Regions from separate parts of the Homo sapiens genome. Here all the other regions are linked to region 3. Evidence: promoter capture Hi-C in 16 types of primary human blood cells and fetal thymus (Javierre and others, 2016). All regions are on one chromosome and are shown on one strand. The core of a region is centred on a gene start or on the middle of the fragment in contact, and the rest is flanking DNA. Distances in the headings are between cores, read along the strand shown.

Region 1 (4,348 bases), core at 1,359-3,858, 240 kb before region 3:
CAACAAAGATAGGAATTATAATAAAGAACCAAGTAGAAATTCTGGAGTTGAAAAGCACAATAACTGAAATGAAAAATTCACTAGAGGGGCTCAACAACAGATTTGAGCAGGCAAAGAATGAGTGACCTTGAAGATAGGTTAGCTGAGATGATCTAGTTTGAGGAAGGGGGAAAGGAGAGAATGAAGAAAAAGGAACAGACTAAGATCTGTAGGACATCATCAAACATACCAGCATACACAAAATGGGAGTCCCCAAAGGAGAGAGACAGAGAAAGGTGAGGAAAAAATTTGAAGAAGAAAGTGGCCAAAAGTGTCTCACATTTTATTAAAAACATTAATAGTTTACTTCAAGCAGAATAAACTCAAAGACATTCACACCTAGACACATTATAATCAAATGATTGAAAGTCAAAGCCAAAGAGACTTTTGATGGCTGGTTGCTGTGGCTGATGCCTGTAATCCCAGCACTTTGGGAGCCCAAGTCCAGTGGATCACCTGAGGTCAGGAGTTCTAGACCAGCCTGGGCAATATAGTGAGATCCCATCTCTATTAAAAATACAAAAATTGGCTGGGTGTGGTGGCTCACACCTGTAAATCCAGCACTTTGGGAGGCCAAGGTGGGTGGATCACAAGGTCAGGAGTTCAAGACCAGCCTGGCCAAGATGGTGAAACCCTGTCTCTACTAAAAATACAAAAATTAGCCGGGCGTGGTGGTGGGTACCTGTAACCCCAGCTGCTTGGGAGGCTGAGGCAGGGAATTGCTTGAACCCAGGAGGTGGAGGTTGTAGTGAGCCGAGATCGTGCCACTGCACTCCAGCCTGGGTGACAGAGTGAGACTCCATCTCCAAAAAAAAAAAAAAAAATTATCCATCTCAAAAAAAAAAATTATCCGGGTATGATAGTGGGCGCCTGTAGTCCCAGCTACTTGGGAGGCTGAGGCAGGAGAATTGCTTGAACCTATGAGGTGGAGGTTGCAGTGAGCTAAGATTGCGCCACTGCACTCCAGACTGGACGACAGAGTGAGACTGTCTTAAAAAAAAATCAAAATTTTGAAAGTAGCAAGAAGTAGCAAGAGAGAAACTACTCATTGCAGACAGCCATCCTCAGTAAGATTCACAGGTAATTCCCCATCAGAATCTATGGCAGCCAGAGGGCAGAGGGAAGATGGAGAAATTAAGACATTCCCAGATAAACATATATCGTCTCTACAAAAAAAAAAAAAAAAAAAAAAAAAAAAGCCAGGCATGGTGGTGTACACCTCTAATCCCAGCTACCCAGGAGTCTGAGGCAGGAGGATCACTTGATCCTGGGAGTCTGAGGCTGCAGGATGCTATGATCATGCTGCTGTACCTCAGTCCAGGTGATGGAGTGAGACCCTGCCTCTAAAAAATTTTTTTAAAATAAAGATCTGAGCAGGGGTAGTAGTGTGCACCTGTAGACCCAGCTGCTCCGGACCCTGAGGCAGGAGGATCACTTAGCCCAGGAGTCTGAGGCTGTATGTGCGATGATCATGCCTGTGAATAACCACTGTACTCCAGCCTTAGCGACATAGTGAGACCGTGTCTCTGAGAGAAAAAAAAAAAAAGGAAAAAAAAGAAAAGAAATACTTCAGATCAATAACTTAAGCTTCCATCTTAAGAAACTAGAAAAAGAAGATCAAACTAAACCAGAAGCAAGTAGAGGGAATAAGATCATAAAAATTAGAGTACAGATAAATAAAATAGAGAATAGAAAAACAATAGAGTAAATCAGTGAAACCAAGAATTGGGTTTTTAAAAGATTAACAAAATTGACAATGCAAAGCTACTCTTCTCCCATCACACAGTCTGATTTCTGCAAATACGGTATTTCAGTTATCTGTTGCTGTATGACAAATCACCCCAAAACGTAGTGGCTTAAGACAGCAGCAACCATTTAAATAAAAATTCTGTATTTTAGGCAGGCTCTGTGGGTATGACTCAACTCTGCCTCCACATGGTGGTGGCTGGAATTGCATGCATCCAGAAGCTCAACTGGGCTGTAACTTCCAAGATGTTCCACTCACAGCTGGTAGCTGGTGCTGTTAGCTGAGGCTACAGTTCTGGGCTTTTCCTTGTTCTATCTTGGGCTTCCTTACAGCATGGCAACTGCATTCCAAGAAGGAGTGTTTCAAGTATTGAGAGTGGAAGCTGCCGATGTCCTGGAGACCAACCTTGAAAGTCACACAACATCACTTCTGACACCTTCTATTGGTCAAAGCGTGACACAGCCTGTCCAAATTCAAGGGGAGGGGAAACAGACTCCACTTCTTCATGGGAGGAGTGGCAAAGAAATTGCAGCCATCTTTATTCCATCACATATGGCTTGCCTGCATGATTCCTCAATTGGCCGCTTTTGCTTTGTTCCTTGGGAGCAAAGCAGACCCAGGGGTGTTCTTGCAGCTGCTGTTGATCTGCTCCAGTTGCTGCAAAAAGATTTTATTTATTTACTTATTTATTTGAGATGGAGTTTCGCTCTTGTTGCCCAAGCTGGAGTGCAATGGCGCAATCTTAGCTCACTGCAATCTCTGCCTTCTGGGTTCAAGCAATTCTCCTGCCTCAGCCTCCCGAGTAGCTGAGGTTACAGGCATGCGCCACCATGCCTGGCTAGTTTTGTATTTTTAATACAGACGGGGTTTCTCCATGTTGGTCAGGCTGGTCTCGAACTCCCAACCTCAGGTGATCCACCCACCTGGGCCTCCCAAAGTGTTGGGATTACAGGCGTGAGCCAACGTGCCCAGCCAAGATTTTATTTTTATACACTAGGGTGTGCCCCTCGCCCTCAAGGCATGCACTTTGCTGCTTCTCACATTTGGGTGTGTGTAGGGGGATGGGAAACCAGGCAGAGAGGTCATGGGCACAGACTCTGGGGCCAGATGGCCCGGGTTTGAATTCTGCCCGTGTCACCTGCTTACTGTGTGACTGTGCGCAGTCACGTCATCTTTCTGAGCCTCAGCGTCATTGCAAATGCTGTGCAAGTGTTTGCTTCTGCAGTTGCTACTGCTCTATCTGCAGCCACAGGCACCCTCTGTGATCTTCCTCCTGTCCCTCTGCTGGATCCCTGCTGCCTTCAGCACTCTGGCCTATTTTAGTACTCAGGATCTCGGGTAGCTCCTAGGTTTACTGGAAATGGATTTTATGTTTCTGTATCTCATTCTCCATGTTGCTTCTCATGATTTTTGAGAGGAGGGAGGAAAATGCTAATTTTATTCTACCATACACAAACCAGAAGTCCAAAAAAAACAATTTTTTTCTTTTTTTGAGACAGGGTCTTGCTCTGTCGCCCAAGCTGGAGTGCAGTGGTATGCTCTGGGCTCACTGTAACCTCTGCCTCCCAAGTTCAAGCGATTCTTGTGCCTCAGCCTCCGAAGTAGCTGGGATTACAAGCACAGGCCACCATACCGGGCTATTTTTGTATTTTTAGCAGAGACGGGGTTTCATCATGTTGGCCAGGCTGGTCTTGAACTCCTGACCTCAGGTGATCCACCCACCTCAGCCTCCCAAGGTGTTGGGATTACAGGCGTGAGCCACTGTGCCTGACCCAACAAAAACAATTTTGAAGAGGAACAAGAATAAGCTTTCACCACCAGCTATCATGATTAAAACTATGGTCTTGGCACATGGATAGCTGTGTGTCTTTGTCCCTCTTTATCCATCCTAATGGAACAGAATTGGCAGCCTAGAAAGAAATCCAACGGGTGCAGGAGTTTGGCTCTGACAGAGGTGGCATAACAAACCATGAAGGAAAGAATGGACTAAGCGGTACGTGGTGCTGAAAAAGCTAATATTAGATCCTTACCTTCCACCATACAAAGTACATTCTAGACTAAATACCTACACAGTGTCCGTTTAAATATAGAGGCCCTGGCCGGGTGCAGTGGCTCACACCTATAATCCCAGCACTTTGGGAAGCCGAGGCGGGCGAATCACTTGAGGTCAGGAGTTTGAGACCAGCCTGGTCAACATGGTGAAACCCTGTCTCTACTACAGATACAAAAATTAGCCAGGTGTGGTGGCACACACCTGTAATCCCAGCTACTTGGGAGGCTGAGGCAGAAGAATTGCTTGAACCCAGGAAGCAGAGGTTGCAGTAAGCTGAGATCACACCATTGCACTCCAGCCTGGGCAACAGGCTCCATCTCAAAATAAATAAGTAAAAATAAATAAAAAATAAAAATGGTGGGCCTAACATACACTCTTCTCCCCATGGAAGCCCCTTTCCTCTGAAAAGACAGTAAAGGAATTTAAGAAGTATCAAGCCAAAAGGACAAAGGGAATGAACAGGACAGGAGAGAGCAGCACACAGCGCTGGCAGAATTTTAGAAGCTGGA
Region 2 (4,285 bases), core at 1,068-3,567, 220 kb before region 3:
GGCCAACATGGTGAAACCCCATCTCTACTAAAAATACAAAAAATTAGCTGGGTGTGGTGGCAGACACCTGTAATCCCAGCTACTCAGGAGGCTGAGGCAGGAGAATCACTTGAATACTGGAGGCAGAGGTTGCAGTGAGCCGAGATTGTGCCACTGCACTCCAGCCTGGGCAACAAGAACAAAACTCCCTCTCAAAAACAAAAACAAAAAAGAAAGCCTTAGCCACATGTTGTATTTGCAATGTGTCAACTAAGCCAAGTTGGAAACACATGTCCCAGAATTCCTTCCCTGCTTAGTTCTGGGTTAGCAAGGACCAATGACCTTGTGGAGATTTGAGAGGTGGAAACAATGTAGCAGCCACATTTTTTTTTCTAATTTTAGAGACAAGGTCTCACTCTGTTGCCCAGGCTGGAGTGCAGTGGCGTGATCATAGCTCACTGAAGCCTACGACTCATGGCTTCAAGTATCCTCTCACCTCAGCCTCTCAAGTAGCTGGGACTATAGGCATGCACCACCATGTGTAGCTAATTAATTTGTGTGTGTGTGTGTGGTAGTGATGGGGTCTCACTATGTTGCCCAGGCTGGTCTTGAACTCCTGGCCTCAAGCAATCCTCCTGCCTCAGCCTCTCAAAGTGCTGGGATTACAGGTGTGAGCCACCATCCCTGGCCCCTAAAGTGTATTTTAAAAAGATGCCTCTGCTTAACACGTTGGCAAGCTTCCCACCATAGATTTATTCCAAAGTAGACTATGAGGCCCATGGCTCTGCTGCCATTTCAGTTCCACCGAATGTGGGAATTCTAAGGAAGTACCAACATCTCCTTCCATACACCAAGAGCATCACTCATCATACTAGAAAAAGACCTATTTTAAAATGGTGCAAGGGCATCAGGTGACCTGACGGCCATGGGCAGGCTGCATCACCATTCTGGGTCCTCCCCATATTCTTGATTCTCCAAGGTTCCCTCATCTTTAGAAGACAAAGAATCCCTGCCTTATAAACTGTGCTTTAATTTTTCTAACTATAGGCTGCAGTTACCCAAACAAGATGCTGTCAAAAATCTTAAGAGTTGTATTTAACGCTGTCTCTTTCTTGCCGTGTATTATTAAGGTCACACGTGGAGATTCTGGGCAATTACAGATAGTGCCTTCTCCTCCCACAGAAATCTCCATGTCAGACATGTAGTAGAGAAAAATCTGAAGGGAAGTACTGAAGGTCTACCAAAACTTTTCAAGCCATCAGAGAATGTCCTTTTATGTACTTTCGTCAGTCACTGTCATTCAGATGCATAAGTAGCCAGCTGATGGAAAAAATACACAGCTGGGTTGGGGAATTCTGAGTTTCAGGATTTTGACTAACTGGCTCAAATTCAATGCGTTTTGTCACCAATACTGGAGATAGTCTCCAGCCCCAGAGAATACAGGCTTCACATGTACCATACTAAAAGTGGAGTTCAGTGTGCTGCTAAGGCCAAGTAAGTATAGACAAAGCCCTTCACTGGCAGTCCTCGTTTTGGAGGTTGTGCAAGCTGCCTCTGAATTTCTGAGATCACACATTTACAGCCAGGAATCTTCTCTGGCTCATCCTCAAGATCCCTAGGGTGATCATTATTTTCTTACAAAAAAAAAGCACGCAAATAAAGGGAATTTATTATGGTTGAGATAGGGTCTTGCTCTGTCACCCAGGCTGGAGTGCAGTGGCATGATCATGGCTCACTGCAGCCTCAACCTCCCAGGGCTCAAGTGATCCTCCCACCTCAGCCTGTAACTGGGCCTAAAGGTGCATACCATCATGTCTGTCTAATTTTTGTACTTTTTGTAGAGACAGGGTCTTGCCATGTTGCCCAGGCTGGTCTCGAACTCCTGGGCTCAAGCAACCTGCCCACCTCGGCCTCCCAAAGTGCTGGGGTTATAAGCATAAGCAACCGCACCTAGCTAGGAATTTATTTCATTACCAAATAATTTAACAGGGAGGAGGGAGAAATATAATTCAAATCCAGAGATGAAGCCAAGAATTCAGAGGGAATAAAGGGTGCCTAGAACCTGCATCAACCTGTCTGTAGACCTCAGAGGTCCTACTAAGTACCTTCCAGCACTGTGCCACCTTCTTTTGCAGTGTGAAAATGAGGATTTGCAGTATATGTGACATCTCCTTAGGCCTTGAGAGTCTGTGATGATGAGTATTGATGATATATGCTACTTAAGAAAGAAAATGCATGCTCAATATGGACCACCACCTTAGATAGCCTTACTTATGTTTCATATATTTATTAAAGGGCACAATTAAATTTTATTTTGCAAGTCGAGCCTACCTTAAAATCAGCTTAAAAAGGTGAAATATCCGCTGGCTAATGAAAAAACAAAACCTTTTTATTTTTCCCATTACTTGGTTCTTTTTAGCAACGATGCATTGTTCTGCCACTTTCACCCCAATGTTGGTTTCAGGTTCACCTTAGAGCAAAGTGTAGGATGATACTGTCCATTGCCGATTTTCTGATTTTTTTTTTTTTTTTTTTTTTTTGAGACCAAGTCTCACTGTCACCCAGGCCAGAGTGCAGTGGCACAATCTTGGCTCACTGCAACTTCCACTTCCCAGGTTCAAGTGATTCTCCTGCCTCAGCCTCCTGAGTAGCTGGGATTACAGGTGTGCACCACCACACCTGGCTAATTTTTGTATTTTTAGTAGAGACAGGGTTTTACCACATTGGCCAGGCTGGTCTCAAACTCCTGACCTCAGGTGATGCACCTGCCTTGGCCTCCCAAAGTGCTGGGATTACAGGCATGAGCCACTACGCCTGACCTCTCTGATGTCTAATTTCTTCAAGTTGGCCCCCACCATGGTTTTTTAACCAATATAGCTTTCCCTGAAAATCACTTAAGCAAAACCAAAAACAATGGGAAGTCACATTTTTTTTGGATTTATTTAAAGAACACACAAAAAAGTGCATCTAAATGATTTTTTTTTTTTAAAAACAATGTCTTTAATTCCTCATATGCTGACTTGGCAATCCATATGCAGCCTAAAAGGTGGTTGAAAGATGTCTGTGGACTTCTACACAAATTGTTTAAGATTATTGAATTTGATACAAGAATACGTGAAGTGTCTTCTTGAGTGGTAATGGGCACCCTGTAGTTATTTGCTCAGAACCACTCACACACCCTTCCCCTCCCCACACACACTTTTGCCAGTTCCCCCTGGTGAACCATAATACACACGTGGGAGACAGCTGGCATCATCTGAGTCTTGGAATAGCTTTCTTGTTTGTTATCTGCAAAAAGCTAGGTGGCCTTTTTAGTATCAAATTTCAATCTTGGCCTCACTGGAACCATGCTCTACAGAGCTTTCCCAACAGTTTAGCAAGTAAGCAAAATCAGCTTTTGCTCTTCATATTTCGTAGGTGAGACTGGGGCTTTTAAAAGAAATATTTCATAAAAAAGACAAAAGCATAAATGAGAAATTAGAGGGATTTTAGTTATCATTAAAGGAAAAAACTCACAAATTGATCCCATTTGTTCCATGGGGAAGAAAAGTATTATAAAAGGAAATAACTTGATTTTTAGGTTTGAAGGGGGTCCCAATCTAATAATAAAAGTCTTTTGATAAAACCATCATAAAAATAAAAACTAATTTAAAATATAACTGCCAGTGTTTTTTAGGATTTAAAAAGGTGAGATGTTCCAGGTTTAAGCAAATGGTTCCTTGGGTTGCCAAATGCATTCCCATGAGTGTTTCTTAGGCTGAGGGAATAGAGAGCCATGCTCAATCTGTTTACCCGTAAGGACTGAAATTCAACTACATGTACACATTTAAGACTTGCCCTAGTTCAATGGTCAGCTCAAGTACTGGAGATTTAGGCTACTGGCTGTGTACCGGCATGGGAAGCTGTCTTCAACTCTTTCACAACTCACGCCAGAACAGAGAAGCTTGACAGGGCAGGAAAAGCGAGCAACTGCGTGTCAAACCTGCAGGTGAAACCCCTAGTGTAGAAGAGCAACTATTTATTTGTCAACCCTACAGATTTTGTTTTTAAAAATTAAGCTTAGTACTAAAAAGTCAAAATTTTTTTGCATGATAGAGGAGTGTAAATAAAGTTCCATAAACCAGTATACATATGCTTATGAGCCAATAATCTTAAAAAGACAAAAAAAGCTGCATGGATCCTAAATGACTATGTAAATAGATCCACTCCAGGTCAAAAATATTGTAAGCACAAGTCTTAAATTCTTAATAGCAAGGATTAGAATGAAAGAAGAAGCTGAGCAGTAGCAATGCTGGGAGGAAGTACT
Region 3 (4,840 bases), core at 1,457-3,956:
ATGCAGGGTGACGAACATGGGCCATTAAAACTCCTTACCCACAAGTGTGTGTGTGTGTGTGTGTGTGTGTGTGTGTGTATGTGCGCGCGCATGCACATGTGCCCGCTTGTCTCTTTGAGAACCGGAGGGACAAGGAGGGCATCCCAGGTAGGTGTGACTTCTCCCCAGAAATGGAGGGTTTCCTAGGCTGGCTGGGTCTCCTTCACAGCTTTGTCTTCAGTCTCCAATCTGTTTGGCCACAACTTCTTCAGCCCCAGACCCATCCCTTGTTCTTCTGACCTGCCTGAAGCCTGCCCTGGTGGACCAAAGGCCTGATGCAACTTCAGAGAAGATGCTGAGTCAGAAAGAATATGCAGGAGACTGGGAAAGGTTTGCAGGAGGCCTTTAATTGTGAAGAGCGCAATCAGAAAACAGATATGCTGGTCAAGGAGGTGGCCAGCCCGGGAGATGCGCTGGAGCAGGGGAGAGATGCCCCTGCGCCTAGTGGCCTACAGCATTCTGGGCTAGGTGTGGGAGTGGGTGGGCAGTCTCACTGCTTGGAGCGTCCAGCGTCATGGCAGATGCCAAAGTTGGTGTTGGTGATGGAGCCCACGATGGTCTTGTCTCCCTCACAGGTCAGGCCACGCTCACAGGGACACTTGTAGTAAATCCCATAGAGCGTCTGCAGAGACACAGCCAATGGAGTCAAGGCTATGGGGAGATACTTTGGACATCACTTGTCCCCTGCCTGACCTAGAGAACCAGTAGGCCAGCCTGTGTTTTCGGGGAGTGCCTCTCCCACCTGCCTCCCCAGGGGTGCCGTGGGCCCTGGAGACCCCAGCTCTGACCTCTGCTCTGGCTCATTTGCTCTTACTAGCTTGATCTCTCTGGGGAGCCTCTATTTACCCAGCCATGAAATGGGGATAACAAATCCCCACCCCCACCCATCTCACTGGTCACTCGGGAGGGTCAAGAGAGATGATGGGATGGGAAAGTGCTTTGACACCTGTCGACCTCCCTCTCGTCTCCTCAACATTCAGTGTCCAGGCTGACCCCCCTCCCTGATCCCACTCACAAGTGTTCAGGGCCCTACTCCCCATTCTCCCCCACCCACGCCAAGTCCTCAGGCACCCACCTTGACAGAGCACTCGCTGTTCTCGCTGGCCATGGATGTGCAGCGGGCCAGGCCCAGCGCACTTGAATGCTGGCAGCAATTGCTCTTACACTGGGCACTATTCATGCAGAGCTCACCGTTCTCCTGCCAGGAGCAGCCAGTCAGCCCAGGCCCCACTCCCTCAGGTCCCTTCTCCATTCAGACCTGTACCCACCACACACTACCACTAACAGTGTCTCCCCTGGTAGGGATGTGTGTGAAGGAGTCCATCCCCTGGGTCTGGTGGCCTCTGTGCCCCCCACCCACGTGAGAAGTGGGCATGCGGTGACAGAGAAGCAGACTTGCACAGAGGGTCAGGACCCCTGGGTTCTAGTACCGGCTGTGCTACCAACCTCCTGTGTGACTCTGGGCAAGTCACTGCCTCCCAAGCCTCAGTGTTCCCATTTGGAATGTGCACACAAGGCCCCTAGACAAGTTCTCCAAACCACTCTGGGTCCCACACCTCTTTAAGGAGGCGGTGAAGATTGCATCTCCCTGCAAGACTCCTTCCTCCCCCAACAGATCTGATCTATAATCTCCAAGGGTCCTGGACCTCCAAGTCCAGCCATGGCCCCAAGTTAAGAGAGTTCAGAACCTTTCAACCGCATGGACGTTCTGGAAGGGCTTTCCCAGCCAAGACCCATGGTGGAGAGGTGGTGTGGGGCAGTGGTGGGGCCCCAGCTGAACCACTTTCCAGCTATGTGACCTCAGGCAGGTTGCTCACCCTCTCTCTGTCTGAAGACAGGGCTGACTCTGAAAACACCTCCCTCAGTGGTTATTATGAGAACAGAATGAGTAAACATCTCCGAGGCATCTCCATAAGTCAGAAGCTGGAATGATTGGCGCAAAGCATTTTCTCAGGATGGAAGCCCAGGGCTCTGGATTTTTACAAAGCTCCCTCGTAGGGCCAGGTGAGGTGGCTCATGCCTGTAATCCCAGCACTTTGGGAGGCCGAGGTGGGCGGATCACGAGGTCAGGAGTTTGAGACTAGCCTGGGCAACATGGTGAAACCCTATTTCTACTAAAAATACAAAAAATAGCTGAGCGTTATGGCAGGCACCTGTAATCCCAGCTTCTTGGGAGGCTGAGGCAGGAGAATCATTTGAACCCGGGAAGCAGAGATTGCAGTGAGCCGAGATTGTGCCACTACACTCCAGCCTGGTGACAGAGCAAGACTCCGTTTCAAAAAGAAAAAAAAGAAAAAAAAGGTCCCTCATAGCCAGGTTGAGCTGCTGCTCTGAGCATGCTCCAGTTGGAGCTGGAGAGGGGCTGATCAGCCTTTCCTGTGGCCTCTGGGAAGAGGCATAGGACAGGACATGGAAGTAAACAGAGGGATGCAAGATGCCACTCCTCCCAGCCCCTGCCAGTCCAGGTGGAGACATCAGAGGTCAAGGTCCAAGCTTAGGAAGTCTTCATCTGGGGACTCAGGAGGCGCCTCCCCTGAAGACCCTCTTACCAGGTTGATAATGATCCCCCGGGGGCCAGGAGCTGCATAGGCCACAGAGAGGGCGACAAGCAGGAGGATCAGGATCTTCTCCATGGTGAGTGGGACAGCTGGTGTGGGTGGCGGGAGACAGAGCCAGCTGTGGTGATGGGGCTATAAAAGGGGCCCTGACCTCACGAGATCCACCTGCATCCCACAGGGCTGGCCGTGGGCAGAGGCACAGCTGTGGCCAATCTGCTGTGGGGCGGTTCCTGATAAGGAAACTGGGTGAGTACCTGGTGGCCTTTTTCGTGTGTGTGTGTGTGTGTGTGTGTGTGTGTGTGTGTGTGTTGGTGATAATTGTGTTGCATCGTGGTTAAGAGTATGGACTGTGTACAAGTTATTAGTGAGGCAAACTTACTATCTGTTCCAACTATTCTGCCTTTCATCTTATCTGTCAACTAAGGATAATTTAAAGAGTTGTGAGGGTTGAATTAATACACATTTATGTGTTACATATATATAAACATTATTATATACAATTATAAGAATATATTTATATTGTATATTCCCATATGCCACATAAGCAGTGGGTAAGGGTGGCTGCCCTTGTGTCTTGAGCTCCTGGGCAGTGCCTGGACGAATCCAAGGCAAGAGAGGCACCTATGGTGTGAGTGCCTGCTTACATTCTGTGTACTTGGGGCCTCTCTGCCTCACTATAGTCAGGCCTTGCCTTTGGCCCACCCAAGCCCAGGTGTCTAGCAGTGTCAGACTCCAGGGACGAGGATCCTAGCCTCCCACCCCTCAACCTTCCTTCAGTCTCCTCGGGGGATTCCAGGCCATGCCCAGATCCCTGGGGCTGACAGTTCTGCAACCCCCAGCAGGCCAGGGTGTGTGTGCTTTCACTTTGGCACCCTCCCCCTGCCCTCACACCAGGGGCTGCCTGCAGGCCTGACTCAAGGGCCCTTAGGAGGCCCTTCCTAAATGCCTCTCTCCCCTTTCCTTTCTACCTCACTTACTATCTGCAATTCCAGCATCAGATACTCACCCCTTTAGTTAAGGTTTCCACTCACGCTGCCCCCTACCCAAGGCCACGTGCGCGCGTGAGCAGTCGCTAGTCCTGGCTGAGAATGAAGAGGTCTCATGAGCCTCAGATGGAGCAGGGGCCTCAGGAAGCTGGGAAGGGCACAGCTGCCTGAGTTTGCTCAGGCATGGGAACAGAGCAGCTTTTCCTGAAGGACTAGTCATGGCAGCCAGAGGCCCCTGCCCTTCCCCTCTCCATCCCAGGAGGTAGAAGACAGCTCCACTGAGAGGCCCAGGCCTCAAGCACAGCTTTTAATTTAATTTAATTTAATTTTTTGAGACAAGGTCTCACTCTGTCACCTAGGCCGAAGTGCAGTTGTGCCATCTTGGCTCACTGCAGCCTCCACCTCCTGAGATCAAGCAATCTTCCCCCTAAGCCTCCCAGGTCTAAAACTCGTGGGCTCAAGCAATCTTCCCACCTCGGCCTCCTAAAGTGTTGGGATTACAGGTGTGAGCCACTGTGCCCAGCCTCAAGCACAGCTTTGATCCAGACCAAGCTGGCTTCAAAATTCAGCATTTACTGGAGCTACGTGGCCTCAGACACATTATTGAAAGTGAAGCTCCCTGAACCTCACTTTCCTTATTTATCTTAGGGGGATAACGCCTCCTACTTCCTGAGGTCATGATTAAGACAATGCACGTGGAACACCTTCGGAAGTGCCTGGCACATGGTGGGTGCCCAGCCATGTAATATGACCCCCTTCCTCTCACCTTTACATCCCTGGGGTGTGGAATGTAGAGAAATAGCTGGAGGAACAACCAGGAGACTCTCAAAATGAGAAAAACCAATTTGGTTCCAGCGATGCAGAAATACCATTGATGAAAGAACACTATCCCCCCTCTCTTTTATAGAACTCAATGTTTGAAAGCACTTTTTCCTATGAGTTCACTCTGATCCTTCCTTCTCTTTTCTCTACCTGCTCCCCACCCCCAGGACCTCTGTGAGGTGAGCCACAGAGAAGGGAATCACTATTCCCTTCTCACAAGTCAAGATGGAGACTGGCAAAGGAATCAGAGGAGTGATTTCTCTCCATGAAGGGAGCTGTGAAAACCATCAGCCCTGTCCCTAGTTGGTCTCAGCCAAGCTTGCAAAGAAAAAAGGCTGGAGTTTTTTCCATTACAAATGAAGTGTAGCAAAGAGAACTTTGACACTGTATGTGCTTCTAAAAGGAAAGCAAAAATTAAGTACCTGTCAATGAAAA

What was found. Contacts are between HindIII fragments. The CHiCAGO score rates a contact against its expected background, and 5 or more counts as called.
Region 1: a contact is called between a fragment that was not itself captured here and the fragment with the promoter of CLPS in region 3, in 1 of 17 cell types (endothelial precursors). The highest score is 6.1, in endothelial precursors.
Region 2: a contact is called between a fragment that was not itself captured here and the fragment with the promoter of CLPS in region 3, in 1 of 17 cell types (M1 macrophages). The highest score is 5.2, in M1 macrophages.

The regions. Positions count from the first base shown.
Region 1 is chr6:35,550,505-35,554,852 of GRCh38, forward strand. No RefSeq gene overlaps it. Among named protein-coding and RNA genes, the nearest start is that of LINC03135, 9.0 kb to the left of the region's middle. The HindIII fragment of the contact is 1,968 bases long and covers 1,625-3,592 here.
Region 2 is chr6:35,570,690-35,574,974 of GRCh38, forward strand. It overlaps FKBP5 (FKBP prolyl isomerase 5), which reads right to left. Exons shown (of 11, transcript NM_004117.4): 11 at 2,901-4,285. Among named protein-coding and RNA genes, the nearest start is that of LINC03135, 29 kb to the left of the region's middle. The HindIII fragment of the contact is 3,206 bases long and covers 715-3,920 here.
Region 3 is chr6:35,794,617-35,799,456 of GRCh38, forward strand. It overlaps CLPS (colipase), which reads right to left and starts at 2,707. Exons shown (of 3, transcript NM_001832.4): 1 at 2,589-2,707; 2 at 1,115-1,237; 3 at 366-661. The coding sequence starts at 2,672. The coding sequence ends at 530. The HindIII fragment of the contact is 2,191 bases long and covers 2,531-4,721 here.